4 separate regions of the Homo sapiens genome follow, and all the other regions are linked to region 2. Evidence: promoter capture Hi-C in 16 types of primary human blood cells and fetal thymus (Javierre and others, 2016). All regions are on one chromosome and are shown on one strand. Each heading gives the region's core, a stretch centred on a gene start or on the middle of the fragment in contact. The rest is flanking DNA. Distances are from core to core; before and after follow the strand shown. Region 1 overlaps VCL (vinculin). Region 2 holds the start of C10orf55 (chromosome 10 putative open reading frame 55). Region 3 overlaps VCL (vinculin). Region 4 overlaps AP3M1 (adaptor related protein complex 3 subunit mu 1).

Region 1 (7,133 bases), core at 3,482-5,981, 150 kb before region 2:
ATGAAGCTGCATTTAATAACTGCGACTTTCAATAAGTTACCAAAATTTTTAACAGCATTAATTTTAGACAATTTCAGAGATTTAAAACAATAACTGAAAGAGCCATCTTAAATTCTTTCTGGAAAACAGTAGGTTATAAGTAACCATTTTATGTTAGTCATATCTAGTAAAAACAAACATGTCTAAGGGAATTTTTTTCTCCTAAGACTTTCATATATATTTCTTTTGAAAGGCAATATTTATTATAGAATTGACAGAATTCTGTCATAAGCATGTAAGTATACAAACAATGAATATGACATAAACAAATTCACTGGACAACTAGGACAGAAGTCAATTTGGGGATATATTTATAAAGGGTGAAAATAATCGTAACCCTTGTGGTCAGCCATGCTTTGTACCACAAACCATTTTGCTAAACCTTGTCATGTAGGTCTGTATATTTCAGGTCAGTATAATTCAGATATGAAATAGAAGAGAGAAAAACTGCACCTTCATTTGAGTATTCTTCTCTGTAAAAGCTCAACTTTGGGAAAAAGAAAAGTCTCTACCAATTTCTTATCTGTTTTTGGTTTGTTTTTCAGGGGGTTTGTGGGTGTTGAAAGAGTGAAGTATAAAAAGACCAGGTCTAGTCATGTGGCTTTGGGGACAGCTGGCCTGAATCTATCTGGGTCCTCCCCCACCATGTTATGCTCCTTCTTAACATAAAATTCTTATGAATTCATGTTTTAAATGAAAAAAATACAGTGCCTTGGCACTCTTCCCTGCATACCAAAAGATGGAACGACAAGCTAAACCATTTGTACGTGCTTTCCTAGGAACTGAAACACTCCTTAAATTAAACATAGATTTAGGCCTCAGAACACCTGTGAATAATAATGACCTCCTTCTATGGACAATCAAGAGGAACTTCGGTTAAAAAAGTAAAGTCCTGCAATCCTAGGCTCTTGAAAATTTTAAATATGGGGAATAAGAACCTCTCTCCATGACTGCCCACCATACTCTCCCTTCTCCCTCCACCAACACCTGTCTTCCCACTCCATCCCCTTTCTAACCTCATTTCCACCTGCAAGTCAATGTTTTAAACCAGATGTTTCTGGTTTAAGATGTTTCTGGAAAGTATAGATTGGGCAGTAGAACAAAATCTTACAAACTACATTTAAACAAGAGAAAGTTGTCTAGTCCTGAGACTTCATGCAAGTTACCTTCTCTGGGTCTCAATTCCTCATCTCTAAGAATACCTTCCTGGCTCTAAAAATCTATGCTACCTATGAGTGCATGATCAGATGTACTAGCCAAAGATAACTTAGATCAGAAGGGAAACATCAATTTATTTTGGGATTTTCTCCTCATGGGGAGCAGGGAGATAAAATATCATAAATGCCTGAATTAACTATTTCTCTCAAGCTCTTAGAGATCTTTCATTCTATTAGCTGCTAAAAACAAAACACTAGAACACTTGCTCATAGAAAGCCCACAAATGACCTTTTTTTAATTTAACAAATCAACTCTTAAATCCCAGTGGTCTGCAAGTAAGGGGGTAGTATTACACACTCACAAGTTCTAACCAACATTTCCTGCCTTAGTTAAGTTTGCTAATCTTCTGTATAAGGCATCTGAGTCACTTACTACTTTTACCCACCACCAGCCCAGGACCACAGTGGGGAGAGACCCACCACAGGAACTAATTCTGAATAATAGAATTTAATGATTCACGGTGCAAAGCTGCAGGAGTGCCTATGTAGGGTTCAAAGTCTTAGCAGTGAAATTTTTTTTTAATTTTTTATCTCACTTCCTCTTAATTCTCAGCATGCATCAAGATACAAGTAATATAAATACCAAAAAAATTAAATGTAGAGCACTAAATTTACAAAGGGTAGAATTAGAATTGTGTTTAACTCAAATTCTTTTAATAAATAATGTATTTTCAGAAAAAAATGCTAACCTAATTTTTAATGATCACTATAAAATGATTGTTGATTTAAGAAAAGGAAACTTTTTACTTTTAAAATAAGTGAAGTGTTTAAAGTCAAAGTTACTTTTAAATTTGTAAATGTGCAATTTGAATATAGGTATAAAAGGTAAAATAATCAGTTATTGCATTGCCTCTTTAAAATCTTAACTTATTCGGCAAGACGCACTTTTACCAAGAATTTTTTCCACTTACTTTCTTCCCCCACTTTTCTAGAGGAATCATCACTTTCCAGAAGAATACTGCACCAATGGGGAGGCATGAAACAAGTATGGTAAGACAAAGTTAATTATTTATTGGTAGGGGCGAGAAGAGGTGAAAGACACTGTATGCATTAAACAGAATGGGAACCCAGCAGTCACAGTCAGACAAAAGGTCTGATTAATTCACTGCTTACAGTGGAGCAATGAAAGATGCGTAATGCTACAAAACTGAAAAAGAGCCAAAATCCTAGCTACCAATTTCTATTTTCAGGGTAAAATTTTTTTCTATTTTGATAACCAATAGAAATGATTACTCTTAGAGGGTGAGGAGCGGTAGAGTGGATGGGAACCAGGTTAGGAGGAAGACTTATCAGGTATATCTTTTTGCAGCACTTTGATATTTGAACCACATAAATGTAAAACAAAAGCAAAATTAGGTTAAAAATAAACCTCTTTTTTTATTCTGATGTCATTAGGTTAAAAAATAAGCATCTCTTTTTCATTCTTATGGTCAGTAGATTAAAACATAAACATCTCTTGTTCATTCTGATGTCATCGTGTACTTGAGTTGAGCTAATTTAATTTACCTTCTTTCATTTCAGATGAAGTTAGTTTTGTAGCATCCTAACAAATTGGTTTTCCTCAGCATAAAACTGGGAGCAGCTACAAGACTGTACACGGTGAGTACCAGGTCTATTTCACTTGTATCCCCAAGTGCCTAATCCTAGCCCTGAAAACTCAACTGACTACATTTTTTTAATGAGAGAAGCAGCTCTTGATGGCACTTGCACAAAATAAAGTTCAATAACATTTATTCACTAAATGATGGATAGCTTTTCCCTTCTGAAAATAGAGAAACATTAAGGTTAAAATGCCTGTTCCTCCTTATTACTTTTTGTCATCTGCTAGAAGCAAAAGAAAGAGAATAAGCGAAGAGCTTGGGTTAGGGGAACATGAGGTCATGGAGAACTACAGCTAATTCAGTTTGGACAGCAAAACATGCAGTGAGCCACAGAATGAAGTTAGGAAGACCTTTAGACACACTTCACTTCTGTTTTCCTTTGGATTTTGAAGGCTAGGATTATTATGAAGGACAGGTGCCTCATCTAAGCTCTCTAGCCTACCCTCTTTCATTATGGCTTAAAACCTCAATGATGCATCTCCAAAAGCAAAATTTCAGAGCCCGCAAAGAAGACTGGTGGGAGAGGCAGGTACAGAGATAGCATCAGCTGGAAGTCTCCTTTCCCAACAGCAGGGTCCACAGGTAACTCAGGGGTCTCCCAGCTACCTGGGGAATCCTGCTCCTCAAATGAAGTCAATGGGAAAGACCAGGCCAAAAAAGATCCCAGGAGCCTACCCAAAGAACTGAAGGCACCCACCAAATATAGGCAGCCTGATAGCCCACAGTAATGTCTTTCCTTTAGCTTTTCCCAAAGAAATCACTCAATATGAGCCACAGTCAGTCTCCCCAGCACTGCCTAGAGTCCCGTATTAAATCACATTCTGACGCACATTCAAGCACAGTGTTATACACAGAATAAGGCACGGCACACAGCACAAAAAAACCTCACAGACATGCTTTTCTCTTTTTAAGCGAAAAAGAAACTAGAGGGCAAGAGAAAGCTTACCTTCTAAACGTGAGAAAAAGAATAAAACAAAAGAACAAAAAAAGATGCATAAAGAAGTCATAACAGGGAAGTGAAAGTTGTCAACTATGCAAAAGCAAAATTAAATAAAATATCAGAGTTAAAAAGATTTTACCATATAGATTTAAAATACAGTCTTAGAATCTATTCAAGAACTTCACATCAATGAGAAAATGTCTCTGTAAATAAATCCATAGTTAAAATAAGCTAACTTACTCTATATAATTAAATTAGCTTTCAGGGCAACAAGAGAGAGGGCTGGTGATTTCAGGCCCCAGCTTTTACATTACCTTACAGATCCCGGAGAACATACCGTTCTACTGAGCACCCAATGGAAGTCATACAACAAAATCCCTTCTTTAGTTGACTACCAGCCTTCTGGCTGGCCCTGGAGACATTGGGGTCACACATGGGAAAGCTAGATCTTGGGGACAGTGTGTTCCCCCCACTGCCTACATCTTGGGCTCCTACAAGGAAAGTATGAACCCAAGTATCTCTGTTCCCCCAGACCTGAAAGCTTGGTTCACAGTCATTAAACAGGGAGCAGCAGACCAGAGCAGCAGCAACACAAAACCACTGCTAACAGGCTCTAGAAGGAATCTGCCAGCCCCTCTGGGGTCCTAAAAGAGATTCCAGAAAAAGGGTGAAGGGATCCCTCAAACTAACTGACCAATGTGAAGACTAATATTTTAATTAAACCTTCCTTGGGGAAAATGGAATGATCAAGGGACACATCTAGAAATGCCAAGAGTTTCCTCTGTAGATTTCTCTGGATCAAAGATTGGTTAAAGAAAAGTTTTCCATAAAGTTCAGAATTACAGGCATATCTGTATCTTACTTAGTCAGCTGGGAAGAACCACCCATATACAAGGCAGAGCTCCCATCCACGGGAATATACTCTTCCACCAGTCCAACCAATAAGACTCCAGCCTGATGGAAAAGCTATAAATCTCAGCCTTAAACCAGTATCTACCCCACATGCCTATTTACTTGTTCTACCTTAGAACAAAGGAAATTAGCAAAGATAGCAAGTAACCTATGAAACAGAAATGAAGAAGAAATTACTTTCACAATATCTGAGTACTCTTATGCTACAAAAATTACAAGATAAAGTATGAGACAGGTGCCAATCAAAACCCCCAGCCAGGGAGAGTTGGGGATTTTGCTTATTTCTCCACTAAGAACACGTACCTTGCTGGCCCAGGCATCTTCATCCCAAGAGGTGAGTTGTAACACACGAATTATCTCATTAATTTCAGCACTCATTTTTTCTACAGTAAAATTGCGATTTTTTAAAGCTTCCTCTATGCCTTGGTTTTTTGAGTTTTTAGTTGTTACAAAAATCTTCATAGCTGTAAAAATAAAAGATCAGAAAGTAAGCTTGGAATTTAATCTTGTTGTATAACAATATTCACAAAAGATGTTCTACACTTTAGATGTTTTGGGCTTTTAAGATCCTAAAATGAGTATACAAAACAAACACTACAAGTTTGACAATAAAGTTCCAACATTAACAACCTTTATTGTAAAAATAAAAAAAGAAAAAGAAAACTCAAGGTACAAAGACACCATCACAACATGATTAAGTAACTAATTTAACCTGCATATGCTGATGACCTGCAATCACAAAATATCTAATATCCTTCTAAATCAGTTATCATCCTGGCCCTCACCCTGGCTCCATCTACTACAAACCTAATGGGACAATATGAAAACTGTCAGTAATACTCTGAATGGCGTATCCTGCTGCCCCTGATCCCAGCAGAAGATCCCAAGATGTCAAGTTTATCATCCGAGATTTCTCTCAACATGTAGCTTGGATTTGCCAACCCCCAAACATAAAGAAGAAAAAAATAATGTCTGGGCATGGTGGCTCACGCCTGTAATCCCAACACTTTCGGCGTGATCTCGGCTCACTGCAACCTCCGCCTCCTGGGTTTGAGCAATTCTCCTGCCTCAACCTCCTGAGTAGCTGGGATTATAGCCGTCTGCCACCAATCCTGGCTAATTTTTGTTTTGTTTTGTTTTTAGTAGAGACGGGGTTTTGCCATGTTGGCCAGGCTGGTCTCGAACTCCTGACCTCAGGTGATCCACCCACCTCGGCCTCCCAAAGTGCTGGGATTACAGGAGTGAGCCACTGTGCCCAGCCTCCTGAACTCTTATACTCATATGTCCTTTTTTAGCTACTACTTGAAACACCAAAGCAGGTAGCTGGAAGTCACAATGACATGAGTCACCAGATTTTTATAATAAAGTTGCCTTCTGAGAAATAACTAATTAACCCACAACTTGACTAAGATAATTCATATAAACCATGAGCTGTCTGGCATATACTAGACACTCAATAAGTGCTACTCCCTTTTGCTAGTCGAGAGAGCAGCTACCATGTTTGCATTTCAGAGCACTACTCAATGGGAAGGTAGTCCCAGCTGGTGACTAAAGAACTGATCTACTCATGATGTAAACAACAGTTAAATATCTTTTAGGAAAAATTGGATTAATACACACTAAAAAGGGCTCTGAGTTCATGTCTTTATCATATGATGCTCTATAATATCCATTCCAGCTCCTAATTATTTTTCTATAACACAAAGGTGTGAAAATTTAATATCCTAGGCTAGAGTTTATAGAGGAGAGTCCACCTCCCAGCAAAGGGGCTTGTTAGAGCTTTAGGAGAACAGAATTAGGCCACAGAAAGGCAATTTCAAACAAAGAACAGGAGAAGGACAGCATTAGAGAAGAAGACTGGTTCTCAGCCAATCAGCTACAGCCATCATGTGATAACCAATCAATCGGGTCTCATTTTTACCTAGGCTGAAGGACATGCAGTGAAGCCACAAAAGAAAATGAACCTCAGGCCAGGAGCCATGGCTCACGCATGTAATCCCAGCACTCTGGGAGGCTGAGGCAGGCAGATCACGAGGTCAAGAGATCAAGACCATCCTGGCCCACATGGTGAAACCCCGTCTCTACTGAAAATACAAAAATTAGCTGGGCATGGCAGTGCGCACCTGTAGTGCCTGCTACTCAGAAGGCTGAGGCAGGAGAATCGCTTGAACCCAGGAGGCAGAGGTTGCAGTGAGCCGAGATCGCACCACTGCACTCCAGCCTGGCAACAGAGTGAGACTTCATCTCAAAAAAAAAAAAAAGAAAAGAAAACAAAAGAAAACAAAATGAACCTCAGAGTTTAGAACATGCTAACATTTTTCCCCCCTATAAAATAAAGTACAGGCAGGAAGTACCTGAAATGAGAACTGGCAGCAACTCTTTCACGGTGTTCATCGAGTTCACCAACATCACTCGGTGCTCCTG
Region 2 (6,641 bases), core at 3,950-6,449:
CCCCCGTCTGTACTAAAAATACAAAAATTTAGCTGGGCATGGTGGTGCACACCTGTAATCCCAGCTACTTGGGCGGCTAAGGCAGAAGAATCGCTTGAACTAGGAGGCAGAGGTTGCAGCGAACCAAGATCGTGCCACTGCACTCCAGCCTGGGTGACAGAGCAAGACTCTGTCTCAAAAAAACAAAGATTGATGTTCTAAGCAAAGTGTTTATCCCACTCTGTCTCCAGTTCATCATTTCTCCTCATTCCCTCAGCCAGCACAGAATTCAGTTGAGGAGACAGAAAGGGCAGAGGGAAGCACTCAAAGAGGTCTTGACTTGAAGGGACTTTCAGAGAAGGACTTCTGGTGAGCTCACCACTAGGGAAACTGGCAAAATTCTAGTAACTCTCTACAGCCAAAGATGGTGGCCAAATTCCAGTGGGAAATAGAAGTAACCTGATCAATAGCTGTTAACTTCACAGATACGTCCAGTTCCAATGGGACTCAAGAGCTTAGAGCTTCCCTGGCAGAATCTCTCAGCCTGTGGTGGTGAGGAGTGTGTAGGTATAGTGAGAAATCAGAGAAAGTTTGAGGCTGGGGGGCCGGGCACGGTGGCTTATGCCTGTAATCCCAGCACTTTGGGAGGCCGAGGCGGGCAGAACACGAGATCAGGAGTTTGAGACCAGCCTGGCCAATATGGTGAAACCCCGTCTCTACTAAAAATACAAAAATTGTCTGGGCGTGGTGGCGTGCGCCTGTAGTCCCAGCTACTCGGGAGGCTGAGGCAGAAGAATCGCTTGAACCCGGGAGGCGGAGGTTGCGGTGAGCCGAGATCATGCCACTGCACTCTAGCCTGGGTGACACAGCAAGACTCCATCTCAAAAAAGAAAAGAAAAGGAAAAGGGGCTGACACTTGTTACATTCGTTCATTCATTCATTCATTTAGAAATAAGGTCTCACTATGTTGCCCAGGCTGGTCTTGAACTCCTGGCCTCTAGCAATCCTCACCCCTGAGCCTCCCAAGTAGGTGGGATTACAGGCATGCACCACCATGGCTGGCTTCACCAAGACAATTAAATGGAAAAACCAAGCTGGAGCTAGAGAGTCCTCCCTCCAATGGCATTAACCCCAGCTTGTACAATACTCTGGAGAGAGAGCTAAAAAGACAGTAGGGTGAGGATGGGAAGAGCCAGGTGAGGGAGAAAGTCATTTTCTTCCCTTTATATGAAAAGAGAATGAGAAATTAAGGGCAACTGGAGAACCACCAAAAAGAGGGAAGGAGAGACTGGGCTAGGAAGCCCACCAGCTGGAGTCCTTACAAAATCTGCTCCATCTCCACAACCTCGTGCCAGAACTTGGTGATGTGCTAAGGGCATGTGATCTGTTGAAACACCAGAAGTCACATTTTTAGGAAGTCAGAAGGCAGACGGCTAGATCCAGCATCTGCTGATTTCCTTATACATGCCACCGACCTATCCACTAACTCATTGCCAGTGCATCACATGACCAGCAGGTTCAGGAGAAATTCCAGGTGTTAGAACCACAGTCACAGGGCTGAACAGGCCTGGGGTATTTCAGAAACAAGCATCACCCTATGCAGGCTTGGATATCAGCACTGCGTGGTGATTATGGTGATAGGGAAGTTCTCCAGTTGGGTGGACAGAGTTAAGGAGGTAATTAGCAGAACTAGCTGCCCTGAGGTATTGATCCCCAAGGTTCTACAAGTGGTAACTCTAGCTTGGTCAGCTACCTACTATAAATCACTTACAGCCTCAGTTTCTCACCTGTAAAATTATGCTGTTGCCTTATCTACCCGAAGGCAGGAGACTAAACCAAGTGATATCTCCTTTTCTTCCCGCCCCCAGCCAGGCACCAAGTCTATTCTATCCCCACCAATCTCCCATATTTGTATCCTCTGCTCACATCCCATTGCCATAGCCCTGGCTCAGACACTTTTCAGCTCCTACCTCGCTGATTGCAATAGTCTCCAAACTGGTTTTCCCTGCTGGTAGTCTCACCCAGGCCCAAGAATCTTCCTTTGATCAATTTTTCACACTGCTCCAAAATCTTTAACAATTCCACATCACAAGAAAGTTCAAAGTCCTTCATGTGTCAGGCAGAGTCCTCTAGGCCCGTAGGTTCCAGCTCTTGCCAATCCCTCCAGTCAAATCACTTCAATGCCAGCCCCTACCCCAGCGGCTGGAACCACCTGCAGTCCCTCCGGTGCCCTGGGCTTCCTCCCTCCTCTTCACGTTTGCATGTGCTGTTTCCTCTGCTCAGAGAAGCATTTCTTCCTCCTGTATTTGCCCTTCAAGATTCTCCCCAAGGTCACCTCCTCCACCTTGCTGTCTTAGCCATCCCTGCCCATCTTGTAAATCTTCCTCACCCTGTACTCTATTCATTTGCAATGTGTCTCTTCCCCAACTTGACCCTTATCTCACTGGGGTTGAGACTGGGGCTCTCATCTTTATACCCAATACACAGCACAATGCCAGGCCCATGGCCGACTCCCAATAAGTGTTTGCTATATTAATGAGTGAAGGATGAATCAGTGAATAAATGAAACTTTTGGGTTCTCTTCTAGCCCCTAATCCTCACCAACCTGTGCTAAGAATGCCCTTCTTAGGCCAGCCATGGTGGCTTATGCCTATAATCTCAGCACACTGGAAGGCCAAGGCAGGAGGATCACTTGAGCCCAGGAGTTTGAGACCAGCCAGCCTGGGCAACATGGTAAGACCCTGTCTCTACAAAAGAATTAAAAAAAAAAATTAGCCAGGTGTGGTGGCACATACCTGTGGTTCCAGTTACTTGGAAGGCTGAGGCAGGAGGATCATTTAAACCCAGGAGGTCAAGGCTGCAGTGAACTAGGATTGTGCCACTGCACTCCAGCCTGGGCAACAGAGCAAGACCCTGCTTCAAAAAAGAAAAAAAGAGTGCTCTTCTTTTAGTGGTCCTTTGGTCCTTTTTTTTTTTTTTTTTCTGAGACTGAGTTTTGCTCTTGTCGCCCAGGCTGTAGTGCAGTGGCACCAAACTGGGAAGCTATTGTAGGGTAGACTGGGCTCAACTAATGGTGATGGTGGGGAGGGAGAGAAATGGACGACTTCAAGAGATATCAGTCAAATCCCCAGGATTTGGTGATGGAGGGGATGAAGGAAACCAGGAGAGAAGCATCAGGATGGCCCCAGGTTTCTGGCTTTCATAATTGAATGGATGTGGTGCTATCATCTGAGACAGAAAGTGATGGGAGATGTCTCCACACTGGGGCATGAAGACTCGGCCAGTTTGGGGCAGGTTGACTTTGAGGTCCCCTGTGAGTGACAACCAAAAGGGGTGTCAAGTAGACAACAGAAAATAAGAGTCTGGAGTGCAGAAGAGAGGTCTGGCTAGAGATCAGCTTTGTAAGCCATCTGTTTATTGGTGGTCATTTAAGCCTGGGTGCTAACAAGATCCTAAGGGAGAAAGCTTAGGGTGGGAATAGGAAGTTTAAGATCAGGCTTTAGGAATCCTAACATTTAAGACCGAGTAAAAGAGGTTGAGATTACAAAGGAACCCAAGAAGCCAGAGATGTTAACAATGGCTGTGGAATGCTATGAAAGTATTTTACATTTGTAGCTACTTTTACAATTGAATAAAAATGTTTAGTTTAAAAAGCCAATTTTTTTATGGCTTCTAGAACTTAATTCACTTTCTGGATTTTGAAAAATAGTGCCTGAGGGCAAGAGGTGATAGTCAAAATATTTAACTATCAAGATACCCCAGTAGGACACTTTCGCCTGAGCCAGCTGGAGGAGGGAGGATCTCAGAGGCCTTTGCTGTGCCACAGGCATTAACCCTGTGGTTGCTGGATCATGAAGAAGTGGAGAGAGGCTGATGGCAGGGGCCACGCGGAGAGGATCTCAGGACAGCATCTGTTTAGTCACTGAGCAGAACCAGTGCCTGCTGCTGAGAATCAGTCCTGCAGCAGGGTCATCACCAGCTGGATCCCACCAGATCCTTCCCCACCATCTCCACCTACTCATTGCCCCCCAGAGTTCTCCACCACAATGGACTATTCCTCATTTCCTTAGAACACCTCACCTTTTCATGCCTCCATGAACTTCCCTACGCCTACAATGCCTTTCTTCTAGTTTGGCAAATTTCTGTGTGTATTTGAATGTCCAGGTAAAATATCACCTCTTCTGTAAAGTCGTCATTGACTTCACCAGGCAGAATCAATTGCTTCTTCATTATTTTTCCATGCATTTTATGCAGACTTAGTATAGCACTTTGCAAAGTGGTGAGCTCCTTGAGGACTAGGACTGCCTCATTTGTATCTAAAATAATGTCCTGTGTATGGGTACTTTAAAAAAATGACAAAGGGCCGGGCGCAGTGGCTCATGCCTGTAATCCCAGCACTTTGGGAGGCCGAAGCAGGTGGATCATGAGGTCAGGAATTTAAGATCGGCCTGGCCAAGACGGTGAAACCTCGTCTCTACTAAAAATAGAAAAAAATTAGTGGGGCATGGTGGCAGGCACCTGTAATCCCAGCTACTCGGGAGGCTGAGGCAGAGAATTGCTTGAACCTGGGAGGCAGAGATTGCAGTAAGCCGAGATTGCGCCACTGCACTCCAGCCTGGGCGACAGAGCGAGATTCCATCTCAAAAAAAAAAAGAAAGAAAGAAAGAAATGACAAAGATTGTTGAATGAATCTCAATGTGACTGAAACCTCAAAAAGAGACCTAGAACATCCTTTTTTTTTTTTTTTTTTTTTTGAGATGGGGCCTCTTTATGTTGCCCAGGCTGTTCTGGAACTCCTGAACTCAAGGGATCCTCCCACTTTGGTATCCCAAAGTGCTGGAATTTACAGATGTGAGCCACTGCACCTCGCCTAGACCATCTTTTCCCTCAATTTGTTATTAAAACTCAGCAACCTCACTGACACATGCTATGCCATGGATAAAACTTGAAAACATCATGTTAAGAGTGAAAGAGGCCAGTCACAAAGAACCACATATTATAGGATTCTATTGATATGAAATGCCCAGAATTGGCAAACCCACAGAGAGGACAGAAAGTAGTAAATTAGTGATTGCCTAGGGCTGAGGGGGTTGGGGAGAAAAACGGAGTGATTGTGAGTGGGTACAGGATTTCTTTGTGAGGTGATGAAGTGTTCTAAAATTGATTGTGATGTCTCACAATTCTGTGAATCTACTAAAAACCATTGCATTGTACACTTCAAATGGTGCCAGACGTGGTGGTATGAGCCTGTAATTCCAGCCACTCAGGAGGCTGAGGTGGGAGGATCACTCTGGCCTAGGAGTTTGAGATCAGCCTGGGTGACAGAGCAAGACCCTGTCTCTAGAAAAGAGAAAGAATAAATGGGTAAGTTGTATGATATATGAATTATATCTCAATAAAACTGATTTTTTTTCTTTAGAGACAGGGTCTTGCTCTGTCACCCAGGCTGGAGTGCAGTAGTGCAATCATAGCTCACTGCAGCCTCGAGCTCCTGGGCTCAAGCAATCCTCCCGTCTAGGCCTCCCACAGTATTAGGATTACAGGTGTGAGCCATTGCACCTAGCCCAGAATTGATTTTTAAAAAACACCTCAGCAACTCCTCTTACTTCATCTAATTCAAAGGGAGGGCTTAAATGTTTCCTTCTTGGAAGGAAGGTGGACCCAATGGGAGTGAGTATGGAGGGGTATAGGCAGGGGTGCTGCTGTGGTCAGCTTGGGAAAGATAGGGCATACGTGGAAAGCAGGCTGAGTGCTGTTAATATAATGGGCTGAGAATACTTCAGAAAGAGGGGTTCTGGTGAAAACGGAAACCACTTCAATGAAACCAGATTGCAGCAGAAAGGCTGAGGTTACTGTGAGAACAGTGAAGTTTTACTTTGAAACCAATGGCTGAGTGTGGTCTCCTCATCTGGCCTGGGAATCTTCTAGGAGGAAAGAATTGTTATCTAGGAGAGGATTAAAATTCTGATAGATGAGGCTGGGCGCAGTGGCTCACGCCTGTAATCCCAGCACTTTGGGAGGCCGAGGTGGGTGAACCACGAGGTCAGGAGTTTGAGACCAGCCTGGCCAACATGGTGAAACCCCCGTCTCTACTAAAAATACAAAAATTAGCCGGGTGTGGTGGTGCACGCCTGTAATCCCAGCTACTCAGGAGGCTGAGGCAGGATAATAGCTTGAACCTGGGAAGCAGAGGTTGCAGTGAGCCGAGATGGGCCACTGCACTCCAACCTGGGCGACAGAGCAAGACTGTGTATGGAAAAAAAAAAAAAAATTCTGGGCTGGGCGGGTGGCTTACAACTGTAATCCCAGCACTTTGGGAGCCCAAAGCGGGTGGATCACAAGGTCAAGAGACCGAGACCATCCTGGCCAACATGGTGAAACCCCGTCTCTACTAAAAATACAAAAATTAGCCGGGCGTGGTGGCATGTGCCTGTAATCTCAGCTACTCAGGAGGCTGAGGCAGGAGGATCACTTGAACCCGGGAGGCGGAGGTTGCAGTGAGCCAGGATTACGCCACTGCACTCCAGCCTGGCAACAGAGTGAGACTCCGTCTCAAAAAAAAAAAAAAAATTCTGATAGCTGTTGCCTAGAAACCCAGCAACCATAAAGTAGAAAGCTTGAAAGGGGGGCTGCTCTCCTTTTGCCCTAGTTGGACTCTCCTG
Region 3 (6,220 bases), core at 2,801-5,300, 190 kb before region 2:
TAAGAAAAGGAATCCTTTCCAAAAGTGACCCCCCCCATCTCTCTTCATCCCCTAAACATAAATGCAGTCCAATTAATCTGGCGTTAGCAGACCTATCAAACTTGTGAAGCCAGTCCTAACAACATGGTGCAGACAGACAGATGCCCGCCCTGCTCAGACTCACAGGACCAGCACAGATCATGAGTGATGCAATGTGTCAAGGCTGCACATGGCCGGATGCATATGGAGCAGCCCCCAACTGGGGGTGCTTATCAGTACCTTACTAGACCACTTGGTAGCTTCCCGATGCAAGGACTGAGCCGCGGCCAGAATGGGCTGGTTGACCGGCTGATTGGATGGCATTAACAGCAGCTCAGGTTCGTAATCGTCTTCCATGTCAGGGGGGACAGGGAAGCCAGCAGCATCGGCCGCATCTGCCTCAGCTACAACACCTATACCCACCTCAGCGGCTGGGATGCCCGGCTTTGTCGATGGCGGGAAGGATGAGAAATAGGGATAGTGTTAGTAAGAGCAATACGACTTGGGAAACTGGGCTTCAGCTGGTTTAGTAACCAAAGCCTGCCTAGGATGAGAAAGAAACATGTTCTCTAGGAGCCTTGTGTACCAAGCTTCACAGAAGGGGGAATTCTCAGCCTCCAGCGCCACTCAGCCCAAGCCACTGTGTGGTGAGAGAAGAAAAGGGACTCACTCCAATGGCAAAGGGCTTCTAGAGAAATCTTTACACCAAGAAAGCAAGTGGCATCCATTTCTTTAATATACTTGATACTAAAGTCAAACTTGACAAGAGTGATTCTCACATGAGAATATTTCTGAGGAGCCAAACAACCAAACGATAGTAGCAAATTACCTTTAAAAGGAATCCGGAGAGAAAAAGTAAATGCAGCCACACAAGTTACTTTGTACAGAACAAAGTGAACACTGCTGGATCATATGGTCACTGTTCTACATTTTCCTGGGACACAGGAGGCAATTTGGGTCAGCTCTGCAGCTGCCAGACATAGATTATTTCCTTCATGAGTTAAAAGTCCCAGAATTAAAAATGATACATCAGAGGTAACGAATACCAAACTAGGAAAGAGGCAGGAAAAACAAACACAATGGTGACTGAAGAGAACTTAAGTACCCCACTGTCACCCAGCTGTAAGGAGCCTCAAGAAGCCACCTCGTCAGCCGCCCATCTCAGGGAACACCCACACATCAGACCAGCTCTCTATCCCCTCAAGGTCTTCTGAGGCAAAGCTTCTACCATCTCTTTTTGCATCCATTGCTAGTACCACCTCAGAAAGCTTCTCCTTGGGTACAACCTAAATTGCTTGCAAAATAGGTTCTCACTCACCCCAAACTCTGCTTATCTAGTTCACAGATAGAATAATATGTGAACTTGGCAAGTGACTGCAGCTGAGCTCACAGAAGCTCAGAAGAATGGTGCTCATTTAAGAATGAGAATCATGATGGAGAGAACATGAATTTAGAACCAGGGATGGAGATTATAAAAGCCAGATGCTGAAAATAGACTAACATGGAAAGAAAATTAAAAACTGCCACAATGAAGCCAAACCATTTATACAAAGAATGATGAATACAGGTTCTTTACATCAAACATCTGTACTCAAGAGGAAGTAGTTTATATGGAATTTTCTTTGAGGTTGTTACCACTCCTAAAAGTCTTAACCTGCACATGAAACCTGACTCCAAAGGGTGACGATGTTGGAGGATTCAGGGCCAACAAGGGGTTCAGATACCATCTAAACTCTTTTGCCTAAACTCAACCAAGACCCATCTCTGCTGCTCAGAAGAAAAGCCAGCTCACTGCTGCTAAGGCTCAGAGTCCCACAGTGTACAAAGACAGATAGGTTGACAGACACACGAACAGATATTCCTCCCCAGCCCAGTACACACATGGTTCAAGTAGCTTCTGACTTCACACAACTCAAAGTCAGCAAACTCCTGATCTTGCACACTTCAGGAGATAGACCTCAGGACTTCTGGCCACAAATGGCAGAGTGGGGCAAGTAATGTGGGCCAATGCTGTCTGCTTTTAAGTTTGTTTGTTTTTTTAAATAATTCATGTATATTTTTTGTTCTGCATAGTGTATTTTGGTTCATTGTAATGAAATTTAAATTTCCTTTAAAATCTTCACTGTCACCCTCCCCCACTCCCCATGCACAGTGGGGCTCTGCCACATGCAGTTGGAGAGATACCATTATAAATAATTCTACAGGTCAGGTCCAACACCAGCAAAGTCTCCCTTCCTTCTTAGAACCTGGGCTCACAGCTAACAGTTCAGCAAAATACAGAGTTAAAAACCAATGTGAATTTCCCAGCCTGAAAAAAATCCAAGATCAGCTGCAGGTGCAGGAGGTCCCTGAGGAAATACAATCGACACAAGAGCTTGAAAGCTTTGAGGATGTGTAAAGAATAAAGGCAAATAGGTGGTGGGAATAAAGATCTAGGGTCATAAAAACATTAAAAAAAAGATCTAGGGTCATATTAGAAACAGTTTAGAACTAAGAGCTACCTTTCACTGCAGGGTTAGCAATAATATTCCTCTTATCTAGAAAAGCTACTGCTCACTTTTCATCATTTAGGGGAAAATAGGCAAAAGTTATTCATAGGGCAAGACTGCTGTAGCATCCATATTTTTACCAACCACATTAATATTTACACCTTCAGATTTGCTGAGTAAGAGACAGCCTGGAGCTGTCTTGAGTTGACAGGTGAAATGATTCTGAGAAAGGACAAAAGCACATGGCTTCTAAGATACCAATCTACTTGCTTCTGTGGAAAAAAAAAGAAAATGCAAACATTTCATCTAGCTTTAGCACAGCCCACACAATTCATATTTGGAGCTCTGATCATTAGCAATGTAGCATCTAAAAACATTTGCAGTTCCAAGAAAGATAAGCAATTTCTAAAAGACCCCAAATGCTAAGGTCAAGGCACCTGGCACTCTAATGGACAAAGGACAGGAATCCTCTTCTCAAATCACAGGCACCCTGACTCTGGCTTTTGCAAGCTTGAAGGAGAAACCATCAGGTGTCAGAAACATCTCACTAAAGCACAGGTAAGAAGAGGAATATGCTATTGGCAACACAGGAACCAAAGGAGAGAGAGAGGGTGACTCCAAATAGACTCTTCTTTCTGGGTCTTTCATGGTCCTTCATCCTTTCCGAGAAGACATCCTTTCTCAACAAGAAAAGCTTCACTACTTACCTTGCTGGACCATTTGCGAGCTTCATCATGGAGCTGTCTGGCAGCCATCATCATTGGCTGGTTAATCACCTCCCCGGCCTTCTGCTCAGGGAACTCTTCATCCTTTTCCTCTGGTGGTGGAGGCCTAGGTGGAGGGACCTCACCTTCAGGCAGAGGTGGTTTGGGAGGAGCAAGCTCATCTGTTAGCTAAAAAAGAGAAAACAAGTTGTAAGTAAAGTCCTAAAACTACTCCCCCCTGGAATTCTTTCCTTTCTTCTAAAAAGCATCCCTAGAAAACCCACCCATATTGACTCCACATAAGACCACCCACACTGAGCCACAAGGACCACCTGCTTCAATCTCAACAGAAGCAGGTTTCTCTACAAAAAGCTAGCAGTGGCCGGGCGCAGTGGCTCACGCCTATAATCCCAGCACTTTGGGAGGCCAAGGCAGGTGGGTCACCTGAGGTCAGGAGTTCGAGACCAGCCTGCCCAAAATGGTGAAACCCCATCTCTACTAAAAACACAAAAATTAGCCGGGCATGGTGGCATGTGCCTATAATCCCAACTACTCAAGAAGCTGAGGCAGGAGAATTGCTTGAACCCGGGAGGCAGAGGTTGCCGTGAGCTGAGATCATGCCACTGCGCTCCAGCCTGGGCGACAGAGCAAGACTCCATCTCAAAACAAGAAAAAAAGAAAAAAAAAAAAGGCTTGCAGCTACTGTTTTGGTTGCATCCCAGGGAAGTATACACAGTGCTACCAGATGAAGGATTCTCAAAAAGTCCCTACAGAAGATGTAAGTTGTGGTCCTGGTTCTACCAGAAAGCAGCTACATAGGCAAGTAACTTCTCCCCTTGGCCTGAGGTTCCTCATCTGTCACTGAGGGGTAGCTAGACCAAATGACCTCTAAGATCCAGATTCTAAATGACATAACTCTGTTGCTCACATAAGAAGCCATTCCCAGGAATAGCCCTCTCTCCCAGCTCTAAACACCCACCAAGCACCCAGCTGGGAAGAATCTAAGATGCGTTGAAGGCTGGGAAACACTGTTCCTTAGCTGTGTGTGCGATGACACAATTTTGTACTCAACCAACTTAAAAACTTAACATCTTTTACTGACATTAAATATGGGAAAGTAAATCAGATTATTGCCTTGATAAGTTATTTACAAAGTCAAGGTATTTCTAATACTGTTAGTTGGAATAAGTGTCTAGAAATAATCACTATTTCTGTTTCTGGAATTTGTGTCTGCAACATACTGCCTAGCTAGCTTCTTCCTACACCATGTAAAAATATATTCACAGTACTTGCGGGGGGTAGTGGGGAAGGTATCTAAAGATCTTAAATTATAGTTAGGGAAAAATTTTTTAAAAGCATGTATCTTGTTACTTAAAAAAAAGTCAAATAAAGGAAAGAACCAACACAAGATTTCAACCACCTCGGTTCTACCATTATCAACTAAGAACACACCAAATCTCCTTACTCCAAGCTGTGCAGATTATTTTACCACAATGCACTACCTCATCACTCATCACATCCACACTTACCAAAGCCAGCTCCTCTGCTCCAGCCGCTCCCCATCACAGCAAGCCACTACCACACACACCAGTACTACACACACACACACAACCCATGCATATAAGCACTAGGTTATAACTCCACTGGATTTAGGAATGAAAATCGAGATCTGCCTCCCACTAAGCTTCAAATGAAAGCTAAACGAAGCCACCTAGTGATGGAGGCTCTAAAACACAATCTACCTCTCTCTTGCTGAAGTCTCAACACCTTCCTGCTCAATTCTCTGCATATCTGAATTTACTTACTCGGAGTTGTTCAAGGTCTGGTGGAGGCGGCGGGAAGTCAGGCTCCTGAGGTTGGAAGGCTTCTCTGACCTTGGCCACAGCTCCCAGGATCCGATATCCTGAGTCCAGGAAGCTCTTTTGCAGTCCTAAACACAAGACATCCTCACTTTCAGCTGGGTGGGTCAGTGCCCCAAAGCACTGTCTGTGCAGCAGCAGAACTGGTTCCATGAACAAAAGCTGGATGTGAAGCTGCCAGTAAATATCACGGGCAGTGATTGAAGAAGGGGGGAGGCAGGACAAGGCAGATGCCCTGAGGCCTGCAGAGCATTGGAAGCATCACAAACCAGCTGTTCTTTTAGTGTTCAGGGTGCCTTCTTGGCTGTACAACTAAAAAGTACCCAGGAGATCCCTGGGCATGAACACTTTGGGCTCAGGTGGCATCCATCACCTCTCTTATGATGAGGCAGTCAAGAGATAAGCCTGCCCAACTCAGAACATGGGAGATGTCAGTTTCAGATTGGACATACATTCCCTGAAGTACTTCTCACCTTTCTCTCTACTCCTTTGCTGTCCTTGGCATTCAGTATGTTAACCCTTATGCTGAGCTGCGCTACTCTGTTCAGTTGCCTGGAATTCAGGAATCTACTCTACTATTAGAAACTCCAATTAGGAAACCAAGCATGTCCTTAGTGATAATGGGTTTTGGATATTAGAAAGATTCTGCCTGAACCAGAGATGAATAGGGGAGCCCCTCCTTCCTACTCTCTTGCATTGACTGCATTCTACTCATAGACAAGACTGAAAACATCAGATGTTCAAAACAGGAAGGAATTCAGATGATTTCAACCAAAGGAGCGGCTCCAATTATGATCTGCCATGGTAGTACCAAAAATATGATCAAAATTCACCTAAAGAAAACCCAGATTTTCTTTAGGTGTAGGGCCTAGGAGACCCACAGATCAACTTAAGCCCTCCAGATTTGATAGAAACTGAGAATGCTTTACAAAGAAAAAAAAGCATTTTAAGAAAAGCCCAAGAGAAGTTAACACCAGTTACATAAACTAAATGGATGGTAAATTGGTTATCATGCATCTTTTGAAAATTTTCCAAAATAATGACTGAACAAGGCGAGGAGCTATTTAGCCAGACCATATTAAGAAAGCACAGGCTGGATGCCTGTAATCCCAGCACTTTGGGAGGCCAAGGCGGGTGGATCAACTGAGGT
Region 4 (7,159 bases), core at 478-2,977, 200 kb before region 2:
ATTACAGTGACAGTTCACATGCCAAAAGTTGTGCTGAACATGAACCTGACACCCACACAAGGCAGCTATACATTTGATCCAGTCACCAAGGTACAGCCACTTCAAATCAAGAGTGAGCAAGTGTTTCTGCAATCTATTTTGTGATTTGTGGGGAGGAATGGAGGGAAAGGTTTGGCACCTTGTTTAAAACTAAAGTTCGTATCAAAACCTAGAGAGCATACTGTGCTGTGCTTCTGCCACTGGCTGCAGAAGGAATCCTGCAGCTGCTACTGAGTAGATGAACAGAAAAATGTGTCATTCTGTCCTTTTTCAGAGTGTGCCTTCACTCATCCATTATTAATCCAGAGCCTGACTCTGCTATCTAATAAGAAAGAAGTAAAAGCTTTTTTAAAAAGAGAAAACATTATGTAGATTGAAGAAGATATTATGATGGTCTATGAATTACTAAGTTTTCTATATAAATTGATCACTAAGACCTTTTTCTTCCTTTATAATTTAAAAGCATTATTTCATACTCTTTCACAGGGCTAGGAAAGTTGCTTCCTCACTCTACTTAAATTTTTGTGTAACAGAGGGTTTTCAGAGAAACTGTAGCAGATGATTTTCTCTCAGCTTCCTGATTAGCTGGTAAATATGATTGTTTTCAATAGCAGAGTCATTGAGCTACCTGATAAATGAAAAGACATGTTTTTTGAATAACATCATAGAATGTTAAAGATTATTTAATACAGTTGTAAGGATTCAAAGAACCTCCTCCTGGAGACCACACAGGGCTGAGAAAGGGAGCTTCAGATTCCTGGCCCTTTACCACAGCTTCAACTATGACAGCTTTGCTTTCTTTCTCATCTGCTGTTGAGCCTTCACACCGAAGATTTCATTTGAACAATGGGTTTCACAGCTAAAAGTTTTAAAAACACCATCTTAAGTCAATCTAATTATTTTACAGAAAAATAAACAGAGGCTGGGCGCAGTGGCTTACGCCTGTAATCCCAGCACTTTGGGAGGCCGAGGTGGGTGGATCACCTGAGGTCAGGAGTTCGAGACCAGCCTGACCAACATGGAGAAACCCCATCTCTACTAAAACTACAAAATTAGCTGGGCATGGTGGCGCATGCCTGTATCCCAGCTGCTTGGGAGGCTGAGGCAGGAGCATCGCTTGAACCTGGGAGGCAGAGTTTGTGGTGAGCCAAGATTGCACCATTGCACTCCATCCTAGGCAACAAGAGTGAAACTCTGTCTCAAAAAAAAAAGAAAAAGAAACAGGCCCAGAGAAAAGTGAAGATGGTTATGATGGAGAACATTTGAAATCAGAGGGCCTTAGGTTCAAATCCCAGCCTTACCTCTGACTAACTATGTGACCTTGAGCGAGTCATTTGATCTCTGAGCCTTAATGTCCTCTGAGCTTTAATTTCCTCATTTGTAAATAGAAGACAAAAGCTACTTCACAGCCCTCAATGAGACAACATATGAATAATGCTAAGCACGGTGCTAATACAAAAGAAAATGCTCAACAAATGTAGATTCTCTGCTCTCACTCCCCATTCAAAGTCACAGAATTAATCAGAGGTAAACTCACTGTAGATGCCAGATCTCTTGTTTTCAAGAGACTGCACTTCAGTTTGTACAGAAGTTTATGATATCTTTGAACTTTGTTTTTGAGGGTTTGTCTTTAATAAATGGTTCTATTTGTTTTTCATTTTTTGTCTTTTTAAGGTACTAACATGGGATGTGGGAAAAATTACTCCACAAAAGCTCCCAAGTCTTAAAGGACTGGTAAATTTACAGTCTGGAGCCCCCAAACCAGAAGAGAATCCGAGCCTCAACATACAGTTTAAGATCCAGCAGCTTGCTATTTCAGGTAAGGATAAGGTTGACTTGTAGTTAAGGGTAATTGAGTTTTGCAAGCTCATTTATTAGGCATTTAGAAGAGTAACAAAAGTTTCCTTCTCTAGAAAGAGCAGTAGCCCATTTGCCTTTTATACTGTGCTTGGTGGGGCAGTCTCACAGGCACCGACCAAATGATTTTTCAGAGCACCTTATTTCAAACAGCTTCCCCTCACCTCCGCCCTCATTTAAGCACCAAAAAGAGAGTTATTCATATTCACAGAAAGTAGAATTATACTTCACAGACATTCCCTGCCTGTGTGGGAATCTTAACCAAAACCATACCATCAAAGTGCAATAATTTGTAAATGATAGAAGAGACATTTCTTCCAAATGGTGGAAGGGACACTGGTTAATGTCAGATTTACCATATAGCGCTCATTGCTAACATTATATTGGTTGGGATGATGATAATTTATTCTTTTTCATTCTTTTTGATACAGGCTTAAAAGTAAACCGTTTGGACATGTATGGGGAGAAATATAAGCCATTTAAAGGAGTCAAATACGTCACGAAAGCTGGAAAGTTCCAAGTGAGGACATGAGAAGAGGCCAAAATTCCTCAGGACCAGTTTGTTTTCCAAGTGTCATTACGATGTATCACTATTAGGTACCAAGTGAGTGGGAATACATATTCTAGTTAAAGCATTTGTGTCTAGCTACACACCGCTAACAAAGTTACTTAGTTATCAATGTAGGATTCTTAAGGAGCTTTAAGCTAAGGAAACCTTTTAGTGACTTAGCTTATTTTGTATCTTTTCACTTAGGAAGATTTTGGAGGTGATTTTTTTCCATAGGAGGATACCATCTGGCGGCTGCACATTGTAACAGTAAAGGCAGAAAGCTGTAGTGATAACCTCTCTCCTAAAAGAGTTAACTGGTCTCATCCAGCAGAAGCTATCTTAAATCTGTGATGTGTCAGGTGCAGCCAAATATCACACCTTCTGATCTTAGCCATCCCAAACCAGTATCTGTCCCGAGAGGAAATTCCCCCCACCCCCAGAAGTTTACAGAAAACTGCCTCTTCAAGTGTTTGCCTTATTCAGCTTTTCACTTGTGCCATTAAGCAAGCACTGTAGCAAAAGCCACTTCCACATGGCCCTGGCAGGGAGCACTGCTGCTCCATGCTCCATTCTCACTGTACTTGGTATTGTATTTTTTATAAATAAGATTTTTATGTAAAGCTTAGAATTTGATTTACAGGGACCTTGCTGCAGTAAATACCATCTCAATTTTGTGCCACTGGTTCAGCTGTTAGCACAGTAAAAAAATCATTTGTATCAAAGGGGCAAATGCTTTATTAAGGTAGTAAAAGGGAACATTACTTCTGCTTTTAGGAAGTTACTGCAAGCACAAGCATTTGTGCTTTTAAGCAAATTAAAGTAGTAAAAGAAAAACTTAAGTGAAACCTTTGCCATCTTCATGTTTTATAATATAAAGCTTACCCAACACCAGTTAAGCCATGGTTAACCTAAATGCCTCATGCCCCAGTTCAGCAAAAGGAGGAAAATGTGCCTGCCTCACAGTCATCAGTCTTTTTAAATCTTTTTTGTTGTTGTTCTTAAGGGTTTGAATTTGTCTGCATTCCTTGTCTTTAGGGGAAATTCCCTTTTCATATTGTGTGCTTCCCAAAGCTATAGTCATAGATTTCTTCCAGAAACTATTGTCATAATTGTCACTGGAGTGCTTAAATATACGTACTATACTGACAAAATACATGGAAGTGAGTTATAATGAGGCAGAAACAAAATCCTCGGTAACATTGATGATACTCTACCGATCACCGTGGTTTTGGAAAGTCAGTCAACAGTTGTATTATTGCACTCAATTTCATTGTGACATTTTATTTAACTTCTTCATCTTGGTGGTCCTTGCCCAGTTATTTTGCCTCATTAGACATCAAGAAATGGAGAAAGACTGAAAGTTAATATCTTAAGTGCTTGTTCTTCATGTTTCCTTCTTGTTATTTATGCTATTCTCTTTGTGGCTCCATTCTTCTTTCAATCTTCTCAGCTTATAACCGTCTTTCCCTTATGCTAAGGATAGCCCTTACACTCATCCCATCTATGCTGTCAAGGGCTGCTGGTTGGTGCTGGTACAAGGAGCCCACTCAGCAGTTTTCTTACCTTTGCCTGCCCTGCCTTTCATGGAATAAGAAAGGCAACGTTTTGCAGCTTCCAAATTTCTGAAGAAACTAATCTCAGATTGGCAGTTAAAGTCAAAATGTTGCCAAATATTTATTCCTTTTGCCTAAGTTTGGCTACCCGGTTCAATTGCTTTTTATTTTTAATGTCTTGACTCTTCAGAGTTCGTACCTCAAAAGAACAATGAGAACATTTGCTTTGCTTTCTGCTGAATCCCTAATCTCAACAATCTATACCTGGACTGTCCAGTTCTCCTCCTGTGCTATCTTCTCTTCTATCCAAGTAGAATGTACGCCAGGAGCTCCTTCCCTCTAGCAATTTCTACTAAAATGTCCAAGTAGAATGTTTCCTTTTACAATCAAATTACTGTATTTATTAATTTGCTAGAATCCAGTAAATCATTTTGGTAGCTCTGGCTGTGCTATCAATAAAAAGATGAAAGCAACAAGTTGATTTTTTTTAGGTCTACTATTGATTGAACATTCTCCAATGGGCAAGGCTCATTGTCAAAGCAGGGTGAACATGATCAGATTTTCTTCTGCATCATCACACAAGCTGCGAGTGTTGCTGCAAAGCACTTCTCAGTACTCCTTCCCTAACCTCAGTATGTTAATAGCCATTCATACTTGGCTTAAGCATCACCATTCTGGCCACAGTCTGAGAGATTAGTGATCAAAGCTCCCTTCCCTATCACTACCACCACCTACTGATAACAAAGATTTCTGAATACTTAGTAGTAGTAAAATATTTTTCAAGCACAGAGTTACAGCTAATCCTGGATCACTTGTTCTAAATTCATAAGGGAGTATATCAAGAGCAAATGAAGTAAATGATTCTTTCCTGCGTGTGGGAGTCACCATCATTTTATTCAAAGGGAGTTCCTGTGATAGGTTCATTCCTTAAGTGGTGCTACAGAAGGACCCTAGGAAAATGCTGATCTTGTCCTGAGAGGCAACTGATTTGAGAAAATGATTATACTACAGCAGGAAGGCAGCACCAGTGAACATATGGTAAATGGCAAAAACAAGACAGTTTTAGAAACTGCTAATTCAGTAGCAGCCTTGGCCTTTCCCTTAACTCAAGCAGGCTGGAATCTGTCTTTATAGTCGGCAACTTTCCAAGATAAAGCAGTGATAATAGCAGTTGGCAACACTAAATATCAATATCATCACCCTTTAATGACATGTTACCCCTTTCAGATCTAGAAAATCAGGGAAAAAGTGATGTCCCAACTCTACTCTAAAAACCTGCTCCTACTATTTTAGTCAGTGTTTCTTTAAGGAAGAAGAGGACTATGTCCCCAAAAGCTAACTCTGTTTTATAGCCCTGGTGGATCCCTGAAAACCCTATTTATTCTATACTGGGCTTTGGAATATGAAAAATGGACCTGTGTGGCCGGGCGTGGTGGATCACACCTGTAATCCCAGCACTTTGGGAGGTCAAGGTGGGCGGATCACTTGAGGTCAGGAGTTCGAGACCAGCCTGGCCAACATGGTGAAACTCCATCTCTACTAAAAATACAAAAATTAGCCAGGCATGGTGGCGCACACCTGTAATCCCAGCTACATGGGAGGCTGAGGCAGGAGAATTGCTTGAACCCGGGAGGCAGAGGTTGCAGTGAGCTGAGATTGCACCACTGCACTGCAGCCTGGGCAACAGAGCAAGTCTCTGTCTTGCAGCAGGGGGAAGGACCTGTGGTACTCCTACAAACTTAACAACTTTAGCTTTTCGGGGAACAGTGGTGGTCTCCACAGATAGCTAGAATCTTCTAAGATGAAAATAAACTGTTTCATCCAGCTGCTTTCTGCCTGTTAACCTTTGCCACTTCCATTCCTTCAAGTGTGTAATCCCCAGGGTTGTCTTGTATTACACACATCCTTGTTAAGTAAATATACCACTGTTGATTTCTTCTTCCAGTGCAACATTTGGATTAAATAAAAATCTTTAGTTTCCAGATCTTGAGGATTAGTTTCATTGACTATTCATCAAAACAAAGGAGAAACCTGACCTAAAAGTTCTTGCTAAAGTAACATATCCATCATTTAAAGCATTTTTTATACAAATGCATTTTATTGTTTTAAACAGAACAAAAGAAGAGGCAGAAAATATTTGCATATAACAAATCCTAGCTTATAAATGTAGTTTTTTAGCGGTGATGTCTCTAATCATCATTCAGGGATTTTTTTTTTTTTTTTTTTTAATTTGCTTCACTGTGTCTCGAGCACTGATATTGGAGAAAAGCACATCCGGCATAAAGTGTAAACCAGTGTCTCAAACCACTGGAAGAACCGGGAGAGCAAACATGATTTTTCTTATTTCCTCTAAGTAATCTTTCTTTAGTAAAACAACAAGTGATCTTTGGCATAGATTCATACTTTAAAGGCATTAATATTGCATTTATATCAGGCAAGCAACTATACAAATATGCTGAGGGCCTTGAAAATAATCATCCTCATTATAAAGGAAATAGTGAAAGCCTGAGTGTAAAGGACCAACTTAAGTTGTACACATTCGATGTTGGGAACTAACACACAGCGATGGGTGGGAAGGAAGGATGTTCAGGCAAGGTTCTTACTCCTTTACTCATCTGGTTCTGGCTTTGGGAAAAAATAAGGTTTCATGTGCTGGGAAATACTTAGCAGTAATAAGTACCAAAAAGGAAACACTGCCCTCTCATTTTGCCTAGTAGGAACTTACTGTGGTGATAAGAAATATGAAACCCATTACTCTCTTGAACCCCATACTTGGGAGTAGATGCAGAGAGCTTGGTTGTAGTTGGTTGCAGGGAGGTAGGAATTACAGGAGTAGTATTTCCCATTGATTCATCTTCAGCAGCACTAGAATTCTAGTCTGCAAATACCACTCTCCCTTAGGCAGGAAGTGTCCTTCAGACAGGGCTGCCTTGCCATTAAACACTCTTAGGGGACAAGCACTCCTCTTTCTTAGGACTGAATTTAAAAAGGATCTTTTAGAGTTACAGATGAACAAACACCTACATGTCTTTAAAATCTTGTTTAGAAAGGATGTGGAGGAAGGCTACAAAAACCAGGATAGGAGACATGTTTTGGTTAAAATTAAAATGCAGCATTTCAGCTCAAAATGAACAATTAAGAGCTAAGAATGAATGATAAG

The links. Contacts are between HindIII fragments. The CHiCAGO score rates a contact against its expected background, and 5 or more counts as called.
Region 1: a fragment that was not itself captured here is called in contact with the fragment with the promoter of C10orf55 in region 2 in 4 of 17 cell types (endothelial precursors, megakaryocytes, naive CD4 T cells and 1 more); the score reaches 6.1 in endothelial precursors.
Region 3: a contact is called between a fragment that was not itself captured here and the fragment with the promoter of C10orf55 in region 2, in 2 of 17 cell types (endothelial precursors and megakaryocytes). The highest score is 7.6, in endothelial precursors.
Region 4: a contact is called between a fragment that was not itself captured here and the fragment with the promoter of C10orf55 in region 2, in 1 of 17 cell types (megakaryocytes). The highest score is 5.6, in megakaryocytes.

The regions. Positions count from the first base shown.
Region 1 is chr10:74,072,783-74,079,915 of GRCh38, reverse strand. It overlaps VCL (vinculin), which reads right to left. Exons shown (of 22, transcript NM_014000.3): 5 at 7,064-7,133; 6 at 5,013-5,173. Among named protein-coding and RNA genes, the nearest start is that of AP3M1, 74 kb to the left of the region's middle. The HindIII fragment of the contact is 781 bases long and covers 4,341-5,121 here.
Region 2 is chr10:73,921,335-73,927,975 of GRCh38, reverse strand. It overlaps C10orf55 (chromosome 10 putative open reading frame 55), which reads left to right and starts at 5,199. Exons shown (of 5, transcript NR_160938.1): 1 at 5,199-5,343. RefSeq lists an enhancer at 6,509-6,641. The HindIII fragment of the contact is 3,151 bases long and covers 3,447-6,597 here.
Region 3 is chr10:74,106,151-74,112,370 of GRCh38, reverse strand. It overlaps VCL (vinculin), which reads right to left. Exons shown (of 22, transcript NM_014000.3): 17 at 5,017-5,141; 18 at 3,215-3,400; 19 at 259-462. Among named protein-coding and RNA genes, the nearest start is that of AP3M1, 42 kb to the left of the region's middle. The HindIII fragment of the contact is 1,694 bases long and covers 3,204-4,897 here.
Region 4 is chr10:74,119,079-74,126,237 of GRCh38, reverse strand. It overlaps AP3M1 (adaptor related protein complex 3 subunit mu 1), which reads left to right. Exons shown (of 9, transcript NM_012095.6): 7 at 1-90; 8 at 1,714-1,858; 9 at 2,328-5,983. The coding sequence ends at 2,428. It overlaps VCL (vinculin), which reads right to left. Exons shown (of 22, transcript NM_014000.3): 22 at 6,069-7,159. Among named protein-coding and RNA genes, the nearest start is that of AP3M1, 28 kb to the left of the region's middle. The HindIII fragment of the contact is 2,685 bases long and covers 385-3,069 here.